Linked DNA regions of Homo sapiens: regions 1 and 3 are each linked to region 2. Evidence: promoter capture Hi-C in human tissues and cell types (Jung and others, 2019). All regions are on one chromosome and are shown on one strand. The core of a region is centred on a gene start or on the middle of the fragment in contact, and the rest is flanking DNA. Distances in the headings are between cores, read along the strand shown. Region 1 overlaps RBM23 (RNA binding motif protein 23). Region 2 holds the start of PABPN1 (poly(A) binding protein nuclear 1). Region 3 holds the start of AJUBA-DT (AJUBA divergent transcript).

Region 1 (4,575 bases), core at 993-3,492, 410 kb after region 2:
TAATTTTTGTATTTTTAGTAGAGATGGGGTTTCGACATGTCGGCGAGGCTGGTCTCAAACTCCTGGCCTCAATTGATCCGCCTGCCTCAGCCTTTAAAAGTGCTGGGATTACAGGCGTGAGCCACTGCCCCCAGCCTAGCACCAATTTGTAACTCTCCTGGGAAATGTTAGTGGAGCAGATGTTGGGTAACTGAAGTTTGACATCAAAATCTGTCATGCTGATCTCTTCCTTTTAGGTAGTTTCCTTGATTCCTTTCTTACTCCCTTTGTTAGGAAATAAGGGTGCTGAAAATCTGGCTAGATAATCAAGTGGTTTGATTTATTCCTTGTCCACCTTTGTTCCCTTTGCCCATTGGAATCTGTGTGTCTGCCACCTTATACCTTGTGACATTTTCCTGGTGAATGCCTCAGGATGAGCAACAAAGGAAAGAAGTTAAAAAGGATTATCCTAGCAATACCACCAGCAGCACCAGCAACAGTGGCAATGAGACCAGTGGAAGCAGCACCATCGGGGAGACAAGCAAGTGAGTGTGGGAGGAAGAAATGGGTTGGCAACTTGGGGAAGGGAAACAGTTTTGTCCATTGGAAAAATAACCAGAATAGGGAGATTGTTTCTGTTAAGACTGCTGACTGTTAGTAATGGCTCCACCTAGGTCATGAGAATAATGGTGACTTGATTTAATTATCTAGTCTTCATTTTCCAGTGTAGATTTGTGGATTAGTCCTAGCATCAATATACTTCATTTGAATAAAATACCAAGAGGGGCTGGGCGTGGTGGCTCACACCTGTAATCCCAGCACTTTGGGAGGCCGAGGTGGGTGGATCACCTGAGGTCAGGAGTTCGAGACCAGATTGACCAACATGGTGAAACCCCGTCTCTACTAAAAATACAAAAATTAGCTGGGCGCGGTGGCAGGCTCCTGTAATCCCAGCTACTCAGGAGGCTGAGGCAGGAGAATTGCTTGAACATGGGAGGCAGAGGTTGTAGTGAGCCGAGGTCGCACCATCGCACTCCAGCCTGGGAAACAGAGTGAGACTCTGTCTCAAAAAAAAAAAAAATAGCAAGAGGACCCCTGATTTGGAAACACCAGGTTTTGCTTCGCATTAGGGGGAAAAATGGCCTCTTCAGATGCCTGACAGCTTTCAGGGCTGTAAGTTGGTATTGTGCAATTGCTGTGAACCACTGCTGGATCATCTTCGGGTCTTTGGTTTTTTCATGCTTTCTGTTTCATTCTGGCCTTACTGTAATTCCTTTTCTTTGGCAGCAATAACGAAACCTTCTCTTTAAGAATTTACACTCCTGACCTGGCGCGGTGCTCACGCGGGGCTCATGCATGTAATCCCAGCACTTTGGGAGGCTGAGGCAGGTGGATCACTTGAGGCCAGGGGTTCAAGATGAACCTGGCCAACATAGCGAAACCTTGTCTCTACTAAAAATATAAAAAATTAGCTGGGCATGATGGTACATGCCTGTAATCCCAGCTACTCAGGAGGCTAAGGCATGAGGATCGCTTGAACCTGGAAGGCGGAGGTTGCAGTGAGCCAAGATTGCACCACTGCACGACAGAGCGAGATTCTTTCTCAAAATTAAAAAAAAAAAAAGAAGAATGTACTCTCTTTCACAGGAAGAAGAGGAGTCGGAGCCATAATAAAAGCAGGGATAGAAAGCGCAGGTCAGTAATTCTGGGCCAGGCACAGTGGCTCGTATCTTTAATCCTAGCACTTTGGAAGCCAAGGCGGGAGGATCACTTCAGGCCAGGAGTTCAAAACCAGCCTGGGCAACATAGCAAAATCCTGTCTCTACAAAAAATTTAAAAATTACCCAGGTGTAGTAGTACATGTTTGTACTCCCAGCTACTTGGGAGGCTAAGGCTGGAGGATTGCTTGGGCCCAGGAGTTCGAGGTTGCAGTGAGCCGAGATTGCAGCACTAAACTCCTGCCTGGGCAACAGATGGAGAACCTGTCTCAAAAAAAATAAAAATAAAAATAAAAAATTGAAACATTTAGCTTAAAACACAAACACATTGTACAACTCTACAAGTTTTCTTTATGTCCTTATTCTATAAGCTTTTTTCTATTTTTAAATTTTTTTGTCTTTTACTTTTTAAACATTATTGTTATTGTTGAAAACTACGACACAAAGACACATGAGCCTAGGCCTGCAGAGGGTCTTTCACCTCCACATCTTGTCCCACTGGAAGGTCTTCAAGGGCATTAATACACATAGAGTTGTACTCTGCTGTAACAGTGCTTTCTTTAGGAGCACCTTCTGAAGGACCAGCCTAAGGCTGTTTTATAGTTAACCGAAGTAGAAGTAATATATTCTAGAATGATAAATATAGTAAATACATGAATCAGTGACATCATTACTTTTTATCGTGAAGTATATACTGTACGTAATTGTTTTATTTTTAAACAATTTTTAATTGATACATATTGTATGTAGTTTCTGGTATGTGTGAAATTTAATACATATAATTTGTAAAGATCAAATCAGTGTACTTGAGTTATCCTTGACCTAAATGTTTATCTTTTCATGATGCTAGGAAACATTCAAATTATTCTCTACTAGCTATTTTGAAATGTATAATAGATTATTGTACACTGTAGTAATAACCCTACTGATTTGTTGAACACTGGGTCTTATTTTTTCTTTTTTTTTTGAGACCGAGTTTCGCTTTTGTTGCCCAGGCTGGAATGCAATGGCGTGATCTTGGCTCACCGCAACCTCTGCCTCCCAGGTTCAAGTGATTCTCCTGCCTCAGCCTCCTGAATAGCTGGGATTACAGGCGTGTGCCACCATGCCTGGCTAATTTTTTTGGTTTGTTTTTTGAGACAGAGTCTCACTCTGTTGCCCAGGATGGAGTGCAGTGGCGCGACGTCGGCTCACTGCAACCTCCGCCTCCCAGGTTTAAGAAGTTCTCCTGCCTCAGCCTCCTGAGTAGCTGGGATTACAGTTGCGCACCACCACACCTGGCTAATTTTTGTATTTCTGGTAGAGATGGGGTTTCACCATGTTGGCCAGACTGGTCTGGAATTCCTGATCTCAAGTGATCCACCCATTTTGGTCTCCCAAAGTGCTGGGATTACAGGCGTGAGCCACCGTGCCTGGTCTAATTTTGTGTTTTTAGTAGAGACGGAGTTTCTCCATGTTGGTCAGGCTGGTCTCGAACTCTCGACCTCAGGTGATCTGCCCGCCTTGGCCTCCCAAAGTGCTGGGATTACAGGCGTGAGCCACCGCGCCCAGCCCTGGGTCTTATTTTTTCTATTAAATGACATATTTGTATCCATTCATCTACTTCTGTTCATTCCACCCACAGCCGCCATCCTTCCATCCTTCCATCCTTCCCAGCCTCTAGTAAACACTAGTCTTTCTATCTTCATGAGATTCACTTTGTACATAATTGGATGTGCTGTATTTTTATACAACTGGGAGTGCAGTAGGTAATAGTTTGGTTTACACCAGTATCACCACAAACACATAAGTAATACATTACGACATTACAGTGGCTGTAACATCACTAGGTTATACGAACTTCTCAGCACCGTTATAATCTTATGGGACCACTGTTGTATATGCACTTGGTTGTTGGCCTAAACATGATGTGGGCATGACTGTAGTTGTTTCCCTCTGTAGTCGTAGTCGAGATCGGGATCGGTATAGACGGAGAAATAGTCGGAGCCGAAGTCCAGGTCGGCAGTGTCGTCACCGTAGCCGTAGCTGGGATCGTCGACATGGTAGTGAGTCGCGAAGTCGGGACCATCGTCGTGAGGATCGTGTGCATTACAGGAGTCCTCCACTTGCCACTGGGTATCACTTTTTGCTAATAGATTCACTTTTGTATAATAATCTGGATAAAACAACAAATGCACTATGAACCCTGCTTGAGGGTGCTTATTATAACACATTGTGATTGGCAGGATACTCAGGCACAGAAAGGGTTGGTATTCAAAATTTACTGGTGTGGTGGCTCATGCCTGTAATCCCAGCACTTTGGGAGACTGAGGCCAGAAGATCACTTGGGCTCAGGAATTCAAGACCAGCCAGGACAACATGGCGAAACCCTGGTTCTACAAAAAATGCAAAAATGAGCTAGATATGGTCATGTGTGTCTGTAATCCTAGCCACACAAGGAGGCTGAGGTGGGAGGATTGCTTGAGCCTGGGAGGCAAAGGTTGCAGTGACCCGAGATGGCGCCACTGCACTCCAGCCTGGGTGACAGCGGAAACCCTGTCTTAAAAAAACAATGAGATGAAGTACTGGAATCTGGTTTTCTCACCATGGAAGACCCAGCATTGGACCAATGAGAATAAGGTTTCACCTTTTGTTTTTCTCTATTCTTTAGTTATAGGTATGGACACAGTAAGAGTCCTCATTTCAGAGAGAAGAGCCCAGTCAGGTGGGTTGATAATGAACACTGTTTTAGGGATTGTGAGGTATGAATAAAAGGTTATTTGAGCCAAATTACAGGAATGTGTAATACTTGAGGGTTAGCTGGAGAACAATGACCAGGTATTGGGAGGGCTGGTCTCAACACATTTCACTCTTCAGGGAGCCAGTTGATAATCTGAGT
Region 2 (4,730 bases), core at 760-3,259:
AATTTGTCACACAGTATGGTAACACGGTTGACTGAACCACAGCCATGAAAGTGAGCTTCCAGCTCTTCTGCTGTTGCACCATAGTCCACCTGATGAGAGGAGAAAAATTTCACAGGCACCAGGCAAATTCCTGTCTCAAAAGGAACCCTCCCGAGCCTTTGGTCTGGGCCATCATACACCAAAGCACATGAAATCTGGTAATTTGAGGAATTAATCTCTTTTCCTTCCAAACCCAGAGCCTTTGCTGATTACTGATCATTCCATTACCTTTAACCTCCTTCCCACACTCCCTCCACACCCAAAACCACATCTATCCCGGAGATGTTCCTTTCAGGACTATTAAATAATTCCCCAAAAGAAGAACTTGCCCCCAACCCCAGTCAGAGCCCCAGTACGTACATTGCCAACATAGATGGAACGGGCATCAGCCTCCATCTTCTCCTCAATGGACATGATCACCGGGCCAGCTATCAGGAAAAAATAATTTTTTACAAAAACCACACACTTGTTTTCTACTTGACCAATATGTTGCACTTCCACCACCAGCACTATCCCATAAGCTCAGTGAAGGCAAAGATTTTGGTCTGTGCTGTTCCCTGCTGTACCCACAACCGAGAATAGTGCCTAGTGCATAGCAGGTACTCACTAAATATTCAATAAATTGAAAGAATTAATACACACTTAAAACAGTATAGGAATCCCTCCTGCCTCCAAATCAAATCCCTAATGAATGGCTTTGGTTGAAATGCTTTTAAGAGTGAGCAAAATTAAGTGGGCTGAGACTCCACATTTCTAGATTAAAGGGGAAACCCCTTGCAGCTTGCTTTCTCTTAGAATCCTAAAGCGTCTCCAATTGGAGGAAAAACTATTAGATTTGAAGGTCAAATGCGAGCACGCAACCTCTACAAAGAAAGATAGACGTAGACTAAGAACAAAGAGCAACACAATTATAACAGGCACAAAGGGAGGCACAAGGCTACCACCACCAAAATATACGTTCTGCCTCACAAAGGTCAGAGGAACACACAACGGACTATGACCGCGGCACAGTCATAATAGCTCAGACAAGCAGCTCCAGGGTGCCGAGTATCTAACCCCACATTCCCCATCCTCCCCACAACCCTTCCAACCCGAGAACCCGGGCTCCGCGTGCAACCGCCAGTTACTCACCATTGCCTGGAGGTGGACTCATATTCATCTGCTTCTCTACCTCGTTCTGTAGCTCCTTTAGCTTCTCAGCTTCTTCCTCCATCTCCCTGACTCGAGCTTTGATAGCTTCCAGCTCCTAATATAAGTGGGGAGGGTATGGAGGACAGCTTAAGAGGAACCAACGCAGGGGCTGTGCCCTGCTCTCGGCCAGAGCGCGGCCTCAGCCATGCTCGGCCATTTCCCTCGCCCCATGCGAGGGTCGTGATAAAAGAAAAGCTACCCTCTCTAGAACAACACTAGGCAACCGTGACGCCCGAATCAAGCCAGTCGGGCCCCTTGTAGTGATCGCTGACCCATCCCCGGCCCGACCCGGCCCCAGCCACGTTATTCCCCGCCCAACCCCACCCCCCGCCTGCCACCCGCTCGCCCGAGCTCTGGGCCTCCAGTGACCCGGCCGGCCAGCCGCCGGCCTGCTCGCTCGCCCTCCTTCCCTCACCGGGTCCTCAATGGCGCCGTCCCCCGGGTCACCCTCGACCAGTCCCGGCTCCTCCTCCTCCTCTTGGCTGCCGGGGGCTCCCGAACCAGGCCCAGGGCCCGGAGCTCCCGGGGGGGCGCGGGGCCGGGGCGGCTCCTCTTCGGGCTCGGGCTCCGGCTCGGGCTCCAGCAGCAGCTCCTCAGGCTCCAGTTCCTCAGACTCCAGGCCGTTCCCGTAGTCCCCTGCGCCCCCCGGGGCCCCCTCCCCGGCCTCCCCACCGGCCCCGGGCACAAGATGGCGCCGCCGCCCCGGCCCGGAGCCCCGACCGCCCGCAGCCCCCGCTGCTGCTGCCGCCGCCGCCGCCGCCGCCATCGCCGCTCAGACTGGGGCCCGCCGCCCGGCGATTGGAGAGCTGCGCCGGCCACGCCGAGGACTCATTAGTCAAGCTGCCTGCCCGTCACCATGAGCTAGTACTCCATTGGGGAATATTACTTGGCAATCAAATAAGGCCCCACCTCTAAGGCGGGGCACTGCGCCAAATTCTCAAATCCCGGTAGGGGAAATCTGCCTGTCAATCAACACGCGTCCCACCTCCTATCGAGTCCTTAGGTAATAATACCGCCACGCTGTGACGATATTCCTGCTTCTCCCCGGCCTACGGGCGGGCCCGCGAAGTATGGGACGCTCCGTGATTGGCCCTAGCTAGGCGACTGGAAAGGACCAATCTTCCGATCGCCTCACCGCAGTGGCCCAGTCTCAGATGCCGATTGGCTTGCGAGAGTCGAAGGGGTGACACTCGTTTCGTGACAGGTGAACCTTGCCCCCGAAAGGACTGCCGGGCTTCAAACTTGGGAAACCCGAGGTCACATGACTAGCCAGTCCTAGGGGGCCGCCATCTTGATACTACTGCTTGCCAGCTAGTGAGCTGTTGGCCGGGTGAGGCCCAAAACAGAGCAGCAGTTTCAGGAAACTTGTATCTCGACCAGGAAGCACCAGTAGATGGGATGTTGCTGAAAATGGAGGTTGTGAATGAAGCATTCCAGGAGGGAGCTTACTTTCCCCATCCAGGTTATTGGCACCATCATCCACTAGCTCTCCCGCACCAGAAAGCAGGGAGGATTCCTCAGTCCAGAGCTACTAGTCACAAGTCCTGTCTGTCCCGCCCTCTTGCGTAGGCCTTCTGCTCCCCAGTTCCATTTTCTTTTTCCTGGACAGCTTCCAATGTCACCCCTCCAATCTGCACCGCTAACAGACTGGCCCCCCTTTGCTGGCGAGGTAAAGTCTCAAAACCGTAAATCACGGCCTTCGATACGCCAGCATGTGGTTACTTTGTGGATGTTGTTTCCTTCCACTCTTCTCGTTCCTTTGGGTGTACCTGCACCCAGTCTGTGCCTCTAACATGTAGTCCCCCTTCAATCAAACCACTGCAAACCCCAGCTTCCCCTCATTTCCCAGGACAAGTGGGCCTATCTCCACGGCGCGCTTAATTGTTTTACTGTTTCCTAACTAGGTTGTGAGCGCCTGCAGATGAGGGGCCGGTTCCTATTTATATTCGCATCTCCACGGCCTGGCAATATGCCTACCACATAATGTCCTGTTAGATGTTTGTTGATTGAACAGGCATTGATTGGGGATTTGGGTGCCACCCTTCATTTAAGCCCTCAAGCCCCCAAGATCCCAGAGGAATTTCTCCTGGCAGGTTCCCACTACACCCCTGCACCCCAAGTACCAATGAGACCTAGCCCTGGAAGGCAGGACTGCCATATTTTGGTAGCAGTCCTACACATTTATTAAAAAGAAAGGAATGGCAGTGTACGTTTGCAAGAGAAATTTTTGTGGGCACACTAACCTACAGTTCGAAAGATACATATAGCCCAACCAAAAAGTTAAACAAACATGGTTGGCCGAGGGATTTGGACAAGAGAAGATCCTCATTAGCAAACCAAAAAATCAAGTGACTCATTATACCCCACTATTCCCCTCACCCCCACTTTTTCTCACAATTCCTTACCTCAAGATCTGGGGAACTTGCAGCAGAGTCACAGTCGCTTAAAATTTCACTGCAAATTACTTCATCAGCCATCTCAGCTTCAGTGATCTGGGATAACTAAAGTTGAGCACCGAAGACAAGCTCTAAATGATTGAATACCCTGGAAGAAAGGTCTTTTATACTAATCTTAACCTAATCAAGATTTGTTAATCTTATTGGTACCCAATTTAATCAAGCCAACAAAAGGAAATGTGATTTTTAAAAATGGCTTTGAATCCTATTTTTGTTGAGCGTTTGATTTTGTAATAAGCACCACTCCTTATTATTTCACTGGACTCTCACAACAACCCCACGGGGAAAGTATTTCCAAAACCATAACCTTTTTTAGGGAAAAAGAAAAAGGCTTAATGAAATGAAGAAACTTGCCTAAGTCATTGGACTAATTAGAAGTGTGCAGGGCTGGCTGGGCGTGGTGGCTCACACCTGTTATCCCAGCTCTTTGGGAGGCTGTGGCGGGAGGATCACCTGAGCCCAGGAGTTTCAGACCAGCCTGGCCAACATGGCGAAACCCCATCTCTACTAAAAATACAAAAATTAGCTGGGCATGGTGGTACATGCCTGTAAACCCAGCTGCTCGGGAGGCTGAGGCAGGAGAATCGCCTGGGCAACAGCAAGACTCTGTCTCAAAGGAAAAAATAAAAATTATATATATATTATACATAATATATATTATGTAATATATATAATAATGTGCAGGGAATTCAAAGCCAGCTTTCAAAGCTCAGATCACTACTACTATAAGGCCTGCTTTAATACATAAAAATTATGTGTGAAAAATGGCAAGACTAAATTCCAACAATAAACAAAAGTTTAAGCAAACTATAATTATATCCAAAAAAAATTATTATGCATCTCTTAAAAGGGTTACATAGTATGACAAACATGCGAAAATAATTTTGTTAAGCCAAAGAAGAATGTAAAATTGTACATAATATATAATTACAACTATATCTGATTTTTTTTAAAAACTTAGGCATGGGAGGAAAAAAGGAGCAAGAACCAGTACAATCTTTCTATTCTTTGGCAGTATATATCAAAAGCTTTTAAAATGGTGAG
Region 3 (4,230 bases), core at 1,442-3,941, 340 kb after region 2:
AAGAATCCTAACCAAAGAGGAGTGAAGATGCTAATGCCTATGCCAAGAAAGCCCAGCATCTAGGCCAGGCACGGCTGCTCACGCCTGTAATCCCAGCTCTTTGGGAGGCCAAGGCAGGTGGATCACCTGAGGTCAGTAGTTTGAGACCAGCCTGACCAACATGGAGAAACCCCATCTCTACTAAAAAGAGCTGGATGTGGTGGCACATGCCTGTAATCCCAGCTACTCGGGAGGCTGAGGCAGGAGAATCGCTTGAACCCAGGAGGCGGAGGTTGTGGTAAGCCGAGATTGTGCCATTGCACTCCAGCCTGGGCAACAAGAGTGAAACTACATCTCAAAAAAAAAAAAAAAAGCCCTCATCTAAGTAGTGATCGCCAACCTCCCATTCAATAGTGTTAGGGCAGAAAAACGGGCTGGGGACCACTACTCAGAGGACCCTCCTTCTTGCTCCCTTCCTTCCCTCCCCGCCAGGAGCCTGTGTGGCCTACTTCCTTACTAAGAGGCGTGAGTACCGCAACTCCCTGAACCCCTTTAAAGGCCTGAAGGAAAAAGAGGAGAAGAAACTTCGAAGTCGCCGATATCGGGTAGGTTTCTAGGCCTTTCTTTCAAGATACTAAACTCTAAACCCTTTCCTAAGTGGGAAGGGCCAGAGGACATGGCATATGAGAATAGGGTTGAGAGCCAGGAATGTAGGAAGATAGAGAAGAACAGTGAGCCAATGCTAAGATCTGACTTGGGGACTGGGTTCACTTAGGCACAGATTTTACACAGCCTTCCCCACCAAACCTTTTCCCCAAATCTAATCCATAGAATGTTTACCTTCCTAATCTATCTCCTGGGTTCCTGCCTTAGCTTTTTGCCAACCGATCCAGTATCATGAGGCATTTTGGACCTGAGGACCAACGTCTGTGGAATGATGTGACAGAGGAACTGATGTCAGATGAAGAGGACAGTCTTAACGAGCCAGGTGTGTGGGTGGCCCGCCCTCCCCGTTTCCGGGCCCAGCGCCTCACAGAGCTCTGCTACCACCTGGATGCTAACTCTAAGCATGGCACCAAAGCCAACCGTGTGTATGGGCCTCCCTCAGACAGACTGCCTTCTGCTGAAGCCCAGCTCCTTCCACCAGAACTTTACAATCCTAATTTCCAAGAAGAGGAAGATGAGGGAGGGGATGAGAATGCACCTGGCTCCCCATCTTTTGACCAACCCCACAAAACCTGCTGTCCTGACTTGAACTCATTCATTGAAATCAAGGTGGAAAAGGATGAATAAAATCTACAGCCAAGAATAACTCTGGCTTCCGCCATGCCCCATGTCTCAGAAATAGGTGGCCATGGGGCTTCACAAAATAATGAGATGCTCTGTGCAGTCTGAGAAAGCAAATTTGCCTCTTTTCTTAACACAGTCTCTACTGGGGAAGCAGAACACTGGTGGGATAAAAACTTATCTAGAAGGGGAGAAACTCCCTCCACTGTGAACAGTAAGCCAGAATATGCTTATTCCTCAGCATAAACAGTATCTCGGAGAAGCCTGGGATGAGAAAATGAGGAGGATGGGTCCAAGAAACATGAGGCCTTCTTGACATATGCCCTGTCTCTGAGTTGTTTCTGCCCCTGCCCAGTTCCACCCAAAGCTCTGAGGAAGCAGCCCAGGTTGTACCTTTTGCTTCCCTGTGACTACTTGTCTTGCTCTGCAGTGGAAACCGAACATGACCAGTGCAGGTTAATACCGCCACCTGGTGGGCAGTTTCAGTCATGAGCTTGAGTCTTCTGACCAAGGGAACACAAGTTCTATCACTATTGGGGAATTGGGTTCCTGATATAATAGCTATTGTTTATTGAATTACATGAGGAAAATTTTACTATTCCTATCTTACAGATGAGGAAATTAAGGCTTAAAGAGTTCCCGTGTCTCACCGGCAGCCTCTCTCTCACTATGTGACCAAGCAAAATACACAGCTTTGTAGCTGTTTCTTGGTCCTGTCAGCCAAGCTGTATTTTGAGGAAGGGGTGTGCATTTTGGATGGATTGAAAAGCAAAAATGGCTTTACATTTATTCAGTCTTATAACAAACATTGATCGCTTTACTAGGTGTCAGGTACTGTGCTATGGATACATTGTTGATAAGGTTGGATGCTGTTCAGAGATTTTTTTAGTTTAGTCAGGAAGCCAGGCAGTGGAGTAGGCAATGAAATGAACTGTGATAAGGGTGACCATGGTGGAGTGTAGTGCACTATGGCAATATACAGCAGGGGTAGCTAACCTACTCTTGCAGTCTGGAAAGGCTTCTTCTGAGAGGGTGTAATGTCTAAACTGGGGAAGAGTTAACCAGAAGGAAAGGGGAGGCTAAGAGAGTGTTCCAAACAGGGAACTGCAGGTACAAAAGTCCAGGGGCAAGAGAGAGTACAGACAAGGTCCAGTTCTACTGCAGACTTTTGGGGAAGGGATAATGCTAGAGGAGAGGCTGGAGAGTGAGACAGACCTCATAATACAGAGTACAGACTTCAACCCAAGGGCAGTGAGAAATCATTGAAAGTTTGTTTTAGCAGGGAAATAAAACGACAGGTTTTGCCTACAGGCAGTCCCCAACTCAACGATGGTTCGACTTAGGATTTTTCAACTTTACGATGGTGCGAAATGATTCAGTATGCTCCTCACCTTATGATGCAGTTATATCAGATAAACCCATTTTAAGCTGAAAATATGGTGAAGTTGAAGAAGCACTTCTGCCTTACGATATTTTCAATTTATAATGGATGGGTTTATTCAGACATAACTCCATTGTAAGTCGTAAAGCTTCTGTACTGAAAAAAATCACTTGACCTCAGGGTATAAGATGGATTGCAGGGAGCAAGCCTTGGCCAGGAGACTTTTGCATTGGTTTCGGAGAGGAAAGACGGTGACTTGACATATATAGTGGTGATGAGGGGAGGACAGATTTGGAAGATGTTTAGGAAGCAGAATTAATAGAACTTGGTGATTGATAGGACTTGGTTGGATTTGAGGTTAAGGGAGAAGGAGGACATAGGGTTGACGCTCAGATTTCTAGTTTAAGCAGCTAACAGGATTGTGCCATTTACTCAGAGAATGTTAGAGGAGCCAGTTTCATGAGGCAGAGAAGATGAGATCAGTTTAGGATATTGGGTGCTTCTGAGACAGCCATTGGAGATGCTAGTAGTTAGTTGAGTTTTTAATTCCAAGAAAGACTGGGCTGGAAATATGGATTAGGGAGTCACCTGCATATACAGATTATAATTAAAGTCTTGGGAACGAAGAGGGCCTTTGGAGATCCCAGCTCCAGTTTAGACTGTGGAGAGGCCACCTGAGGTCATGAGCACTATTGGAGCATGCCCTATTAGCATATGCGTCTTCTACTTCTTCCCCTTCACTCATCTCTGCTTCCAGTTATCCCTTGAAAACACAGGCTGTTCATCCCAGTTGTGCCCATTGCTACCACCAACTCTTGCATGGGCCTCCTTTAATGGCCTCCCAACATTTCATAAGATTTCCTCTCGCATCCTCACCCCAAAGGATCAAAGCTTCCAAATATTAGTAGTTGTGTGGATATTTTGGATGTAATTGGAAGGAAGAATCAAAGTTCTCCTTCCTCATCTGGACACAGGAAAGGAGGGAACACATTATGGTTAATTCTGAAGATGTTGCTCACAGCAGGTTCTAGATGCAATCCGATAGCTCCCCTCTGTTCCTAGTGCTTTCAGTCCTCCCTGCTTCCACTCTGGTAGGAAACTCTCCTCAGGATCAGAGAAAAGCCGTGGCCTTGACCAGGGAAACAGAGGCTGATTCTCAGGGGAGATGAGGTCAGGGAGACAATGCAACTAGGACGAAGAAGCCAAATAGTTTGGCACAAATTAATTTCCCAAAAGATATTAACCTCGTTTCTTTCCACATTCCCTAAGGCTACACTAAGATTATAAAAGGTGTTCAAAATGTTGAGATGAAAATAATATGCATGACTTGTTTGCATATAATTTTCATACTCATTTACTATCTAAATACAAAGGAGTCATTTTCCTTCTCCATTCTACTTCCTCCACCCCTTGCCCCTGATGTTTTAGTCTGGGCAAAAGTAGTTGGCTGGTTTTTAAAAAATTTTTTTGAGACGGAATCTCCCTCTATCGCCCAGGCCTGAGTGCAATGGCACAATCTCGGCTCTCTGCAACCTCCGCCTCCTGGGTTCACGCGATTCTTCTGCCTCAGCCTCCCAAGTAGC

The links. Contacts are between HindIII fragments. The study calls those that stand out against the background at their distance.
Region 1: a fragment that was not itself captured here is called in contact with the fragment with the promoter of PABPN1 in region 2 in 1 of the 25 tissues and cell types used here (H1 embryonic stem cells).
Region 3: a fragment that was not itself captured here is called in contact with the fragment with the promoter of PABPN1 in region 2 in 1 of the 25 tissues and cell types used here (thymus).

What each region holds. Positions count from the first base shown.
Region 1 is chr14:22,905,432-22,910,006 of GRCh38, reverse strand. It overlaps RBM23 (RNA binding motif protein 23), which reads left to right. Exons shown (of 14, transcript NM_001077351.2): 3 at 412-524; 4 at 1,627-1,674; 5 at 3,639-3,812; 6 at 4,348-4,401; 7 at 4,554-4,575. Among named protein-coding and RNA genes, the nearest start is that of RBM23, 11 kb to the left of the region's middle. The HindIII fragment of the contact is 8,113 bases long and covers 1-4,575 here.
Region 2 is chr14:23,318,736-23,323,465 of GRCh38, reverse strand. It overlaps PABPN1 (poly(A) binding protein nuclear 1), which reads right to left and starts at 2,009. Exons shown (of 7, transcript NM_004643.4): 1 at 1,646-2,009; 2 at 1,171-1,285; 3 at 400-467; 4 at 1-89. The coding sequence starts at 1,996. BCL2L2-PABPN1 (BCL2L2-PABPN1 readthrough) reads right to left here. Exons shown (of 8, transcript NM_001387346.1): 4 at 1,171-1,285; 5 at 400-467; 6 at 1-89. RefSeq lists enhancers at 635-1,444, 1,445-2,256, 2,510-2,579, 2,268-2,918 and silencers at 1,550-1,619, 1,680-2,109. The HindIII fragment of the contact is 10,317 bases long and covers 1-4,730 here.
Region 3 is chr14:22,984,257-22,988,486 of GRCh38, reverse strand. It overlaps C14orf93 (chromosome 14 open reading frame 93), which reads left to right. Exons shown (of 7, transcript NM_021944.4): 6 at 472-584; 7 at 853-2,593. The coding sequence ends at 1,272. AJUBA-DT (AJUBA divergent transcript) reads right to left here and starts at 4,163. Exons shown (of 3, transcript XR_007064074.1): 1 at 3,667-4,163. RefSeq lists a silencer at 1,647-1,756. The HindIII fragment of the contact is 3,415 bases long and covers 984-4,230 here.